Linked DNA regions of Homo sapiens: region 1 is linked to region 2. Evidence: promoter capture Hi-C in human tissues and cell types (Jung and others, 2019). All regions are on one chromosome and are shown on one strand. Each heading gives the region's core, a stretch centred on a gene start or on the middle of the fragment in contact. The rest is flanking DNA. Distances are from core to core; before and after follow the strand shown. Region 1 has its middle 55 kb from the start of NETO1-DT. Region 2 holds the start of NETO1 (neuropilin and tolloid like 1).

Region 1 (2,718 bases), core at 43-2,542, 56 kb before region 2:
TCTCAGGTAGTTCTTTAATAGCAGTATGAAAATGGACTAATACAGAAAATTTGTGGCAGGAGTTGGGCACTGCTACAAAGATACCAGAAAATGTGGAAGTGACTTTGGAACTGGGTAATGGGTACAAGTTGGAACAGTTTGAAGGATTCAAAAGAAGACAGGAAGATGTGAGAAAGTTGGGAACTTCCTAGAGACTTGTACCAAAGTGCTGATAGTGATATGGACAATGGAGTCCAGATTGAGATGATCTCAGATGGAGATGAGAAACTTATTGGGAATTGGAGTAAAGATCGTTCTTGCTATGCAGAGACTGGCAGCATTTTCCCCCTGCCTTAGAGATCTGTGGAACTTTGATGATATATGACATCTGATGAAAGAAATTTCTCAGCAGCAAAGTGTTCAAGATTTGGCCTGGCTGCTCCTAAGTGCATAAAGCTATATGCATTAACAAAGAGATGGTCTGAAATTGGAAGTTATGTTTAAAAGGGAAGCAGAGCATAAAAGCTTGGAAAATTTGAAGCCTGACCATGTGGTAGAAAAGAAAACCCATTTTCTGGAGAGCAATTCAAGCCTGCTGCAGAAATTGGCATAAGTAAAGAAAAGCTGAATGTTAATCCCAAAGACAACAGTGAAAATATCTTCAGGGAATGTCAGAGATTATCACAGCAGCCCCTCCCATCACAGGCCCAGAGGTCTAAGAGGGAAAAATGGTCTTGTGGGCAGGGCCTAAGGCCCTGCTGCTCTGTGCAGCCTCAGGACATGGCACCCTGAATCCCAGCCATTCTAGCTCCAGCCATGGCTAAAAAGGGTCAAGGTGCAGCTCAGGCTGTGGCTTCAAAGGGTGCAAGCCCCGAGTCTTGGTGGCTTCCACATGGTGTTGGGCCTCCAGGTGTTGGAAGGCAAGAGTTTTTGAACCTCCACCTAGATTTCAGAGGATGTATTTGCATCCTCTGAAACCTGGATTTGCAGGCAAAAGTCAGCTACAGTGGTGGAGCCCTCATGGAGAACTTCTGCTAGGGCAATGCAGAGGGTAAGTGTGGGGTTCAAGTCCCCACACAGAGTCCTCACTGGGGCATTGCCTAGTGAAGCTATGAGAAGCGGACCACCATCCTCTAGACACCAGAATGGTAGATCTACCAACAGCTTGAACTGTGAGCCTGGAAAAGCCACAGACACTCAATGCCAGCCCATGAAAGTAGCCATGGGGCAGAGTCACAGGGCTGGAGATACTCAAGGCCATTGGAGCCTATCCCATGCATCACCATGCCCTGGATGTGAGACATGGAGTCAAAGGAAAGTTTTTTCAAATTTTAAGATTTACTGTGTACCCTGCTGGATTTGAGACTTGCTTGGGGCCTATGGCCCCTTTGTTTTGGTCAATTTCTCACATGTGGAATGGGAATATTTACCCAATCCCTGTACCCCCATTGTATCTTGGAAGTAACTAACTTGCTTTTGATTGTACAGGCTCATTGGTGGAAGGGACTTCCCTTGTCTCAGATGAGACTTTGGACTTGGACTTTGGGGTTAACTCTGGAGTGAGTTAAGACTTTGGGGGACTGTTTGGAAGGCATGATTGTGATTTGAAATGTGAGAAGGACATGATATTTGGGAGAGGCCAGTGGTGGAATGACATAGTTTGGCTCTGTGTCCCCACCCAAATCTTATCTTGAATTGTAATCCCCACATGTTAGGGAAGGGACCTGGTGGGAGGCGATTGAATAATGGGGGCAGACTTCCTCCATGCTATTCTCATGATAGTGAGTAAGTTCTCATGAGAACTGGTTGTTTGAAAGTGTGTGGCACTTCCCCTTTTGCTCACTCTCTCTCTTCTGCTGCTGCCGCCATGGTAAGAAGTGCTTGCTTCCCCTTCACCTTTCCCCATGATTTAAGTTCCCTGAGGCCATCCAGTTGTGAGTCCTGTTAACCCTGCAGAAAAGTGAGTTAATTAAACCTCTTTTCTTCATAAATTACCTAGTCTCAGATATTTCCTTATAGTAGTGTGAAAATGGACTAATTCGCATACCTTATTTTTTATTACTGGAGTTTTGCCTTATAATATACACTTTTCTTCCTGGGTTTTTTTCTTTGATGATAGTCTATGAGATCTCACAATTTCTCTATTTCCTTATCAAAGAGGACACTCCATTTTTCTTATAAAAAATCAGAAAGCATCCCTTTCCTGCATGATGCAGAGTTTGCCGCAGCCTTGGGGTATTTCTCTTGCTCCTACGGATTATTTCTGTACGTCTAACTCAGACCCTATATCAATTCCTACAAATCTCACTTCCCAGTACCCTCTCAACTCTTCTGCAAAAAGCTGCTAAATTCAAATTCTTTCCATTTTTTCTGAGTCTTCTCTGCAGCAGATCTCTGAGCCTTTATATTTCTATGCCTTCATCTTGAAATATCATCAATATATGGCTGAGTAATAGCAGATAGTGGATATTTCAAGAAAAATATGCATTCCCTAAGATTGCTGTTTGATGTGCAAGAGCGTCATCCAGATGGGCTCTGTCCTTGGCTCTTTATTTTAATATTTTATCATTTACTTCTAGGATGTAAAATGCCAGTTAAACAAATACTTTGATAGTAGAAAACTAGTAGGCCGTCATGTAGAATTGTAACAAAAGTATTTGTAATGCTCTTTGAAAATGAAAATGAAAGGCCAAATAAGAAATAGAAAATGTAATAGGAAAGAAGTGTCTAATCATATAT
Region 2 (2,700 bases), core at 201-2,700:
CAGGAGACCTCCACCCACTCACAGCCGCTGCGCTAGGCGTGGGCAGGACTGCGACGAGCACCCAACGCCCCGCGCAGCCCCGCGCGCACGTGGGCGCCCCAGCAGCAGGTGCCGGGAAGCGGAGGCCGGGCCAGAGCCGGGAGGCAGCCCCCCGGCCTCGAGCGCTCGCCAGACTCTTCTCATGGCCCTTTCTCCTTTCCTCGGCCTTTCGGGGCCACCCTAGTCTTCACAGCTCAGCGTCTGCTGCTGACCCCCCGCCCCCCGGCGACCCCGCCATTGCCATTAGCTCTTCCTACCCCGGCTTCTTCGCCGCCACAGTCCCCAACCCAAGCCCCAGCCGCGGCGCGGGTGTGGGTGGCCGGACGGGATGGCTTCCGTAGTCCCGGGGTCCGGCGGGCTCGGCTGTGGTCTGCGTGGGTCGCGTCCGCAGAGGCCGAGGGAGGGCGGGACGGAGCCGGGAAAGGGAGGAGGTGCCGTTGCGGCGCCCAGGGAGGGACTCCCTGCACCCCCGCGCGCTCCAGCCCTTCCCGGCGCTGCCTCGCGGTTGCCCTTATTTCGTATTCATTGATTCGCATTTTACAAGCCCGGGCTCTTCCGGTGCTGTTTCCCCGCAACTCGTGTCTCCCAGACTTTAACGCGCCGCGCGAGCCTGTAGGAGGAAGTGGCGCGGGGGAACGGGGGTCCGTGTGTGCCTTGGGGTGGTTTTAAATACCTCGAGGTGGGGGGCTCAATTGCAAGAAGCCCGCGTCTTTGCAGGAGTAATTTGGTGGGGGGACTGGACATCAGGCCCAGTGCTCAACCGCGAAACTTTTACGGCCGCCTTTCCCTGGGGCGCGCCCCTGCCGTGTCTCCCAAGCTGAGCGCGGAGTCCGCGGCGAAACCTGCGCCCCAGGGAGGGAGGGAGAGGGGGCGCCCAGTTCCTTTACGCGGATGGAAAAGAAGGGGTGGGAGGCAGAGAGCCCGCAAGGTCTAACCTTTAAAAAGTGAAACACCAAACCCCACAAGGGATTTTCACACGAAGGCCCCTCCCGCTTCCACGCCTTCCGTCCGGCACGAGGATCCGGCTCGGGATTTGCGGCTGCATCCTCTCTCTGCGCCCTGGCGGGCCGAGCCGCGGATCCCAGCCGGGTCCTCACCCCCTCCCCGCCCCTCCCCCAGATCCGCGCGGCTGGGATGTCCTTGCTGCCGCCGCCGCGGCCCCATTCTGCCGCGCACCAGCCCCGGGGCGCCGGCCGCGCGCAGCCTCGCTATCCCACCCAGGCTCCGGGCTTCCAGGAGGGTCGTGGAGCCCCAAGCCATGACTAAGGAGCCCATTTGGTAACTCTGCCCTCTTCCGGCTCCTTTCTCCTCCCTCCCTTCCCCGCCCCCCGGCCCCCCCCCCGGCCGCCCCGCTCCCCTGCACCGCCCTCCAGCCCGCCTCCCAGACGCCCACCCACCCGCTCCTCTTTCCGCAAGATAGCAGAGGTGGCGCGCAGCCCGGCGAGCCGATGACGGACCCCTTCTTCCTGCCTTCAATGCCTCAGCGGAAGATCCCCAAGGGCTGGAGCGAGGAGCGCTGCCGCTGGACATCCTCCCGGGGAGGCTGCTCCGACCTGCTGCGCGGCGCGTCTGAGACTGGGGACTGAGCCACCCCGCCGCCGCCGGCGCCGCCGCCGCCGCCCGCTCCGTCGCTGCCGTCGGTCTGGACTGGCCCCCACCTCGCTGCGCCCTCTCCCCGGCCCCGGCCCCGGCTCGGGGCGTCCCGGGGCTCGCCCTGCGACCGCCGCCTCCCGCGCGCCGCGTCCTCCCGACCCCGCGGCGGCGACGATGCCCGGGAGGAGGGTCCTGACGGCGGCGGCGCGGATGGTGGCGGCCGGCGCCCGGGTGTGATGCGAGCGTCACGGTGGGGATGCTGCTGGCTGCGCGGCGCTGAGGGCCAGCGAGAGCGAGAGCCCGCCCGGGGCGGAGGACGGACTCATCCGGATCTGGCTGCAGCGTGGGCTCGGAGCTCCCCCTTCCTCTCGGTCTCCCTCTCGGCCCCCCTTTATTTCCTTCTTGCTTTGCGTCTTTAACACCTCTCGACCCTGTCCTCCCCCCGCCACTGGAAGTCTTCCCGTCTCTAAATGGAATTAGTGGAGCCCGGAGCCTCTGGTGTAACGCACAGACATGATCCATGGGCGCAGCGTGCTTCACAGTGAGTACCCTCCCCGCCGCGCCCGTGCGCTCCCGGAGCCAGCCCTCCCGCCCCTTTCCCGGGGCCGAACGCGCAGGAAAAGCCTCTGCGCCGCGCTCCGGCGGACCCTGCAGTCCCGCGCGGGTCGGGGCCGACGTAAACTTTCTGTATTGCAGCATCGTGGAACCGGGCGTGGGGGCGGCGCGCGGTCAGCCGTCGCCGGATCCCAAAACCTGCCGGAGAACGGTCTTTCAGTGCGCAGGAACCCCCCGGGGGTGGAGGATAGCGTGCAGTTCAGGGATGGACACGTGCGGCAGAGATTGGCCCAAGCGAGGGCGCAGGTGGAAAGCGGGAGAGCGCGGATGATACCTAGTGGGGCCAGAGGAGTCTTCCTCTTCTAGGGGCTCCCGGAGCTCGGCGGGCCCCTGTTCGCAGTACAGGAGGTAGCAGAAGGCACACCTGAAGCCAGCGCTGGAGGGAAGGGCGAGGGTCAGCTTCCACCCCTTTCCGCCCTGGAGACCGCTGATGTCGCTTTATGGGTGTGTGGT

The links. Contacts are between HindIII fragments. The study calls those that stand out against the background at their distance.
Region 1: a contact is called between a fragment that was not itself captured here and the fragment with the promoter of NETO1 in region 2, in 1 of the 25 tissues and cell types used here (adrenal gland).

The regions. Positions count from the first base shown.
Region 1 is chr18:72,922,191-72,924,908 of GRCh38, reverse strand. No RefSeq gene overlaps it. Among named protein-coding and RNA genes, the nearest start is that of NETO1-DT, 55 kb to the right of the region's middle. The HindIII fragment of the contact is 6,337 bases long and covers 1-2,718 here.
Region 2 is chr18:72,866,737-72,869,436 of GRCh38, reverse strand. It overlaps NETO1 (neuropilin and tolloid like 1), which reads left to right and starts at 1,450. Exons shown (of 11, transcript NM_138966.5): 1 at 1,450-2,173. The coding sequence starts at 2,146. NETO1-DT (NETO1 divergent transcript) reads right to left here and starts at 1,049. Exons shown (of 2, transcript NR_134648.1): 1 at 975-1,049. The HindIII fragment of the contact is 16,969 bases long and covers 1-2,700 here.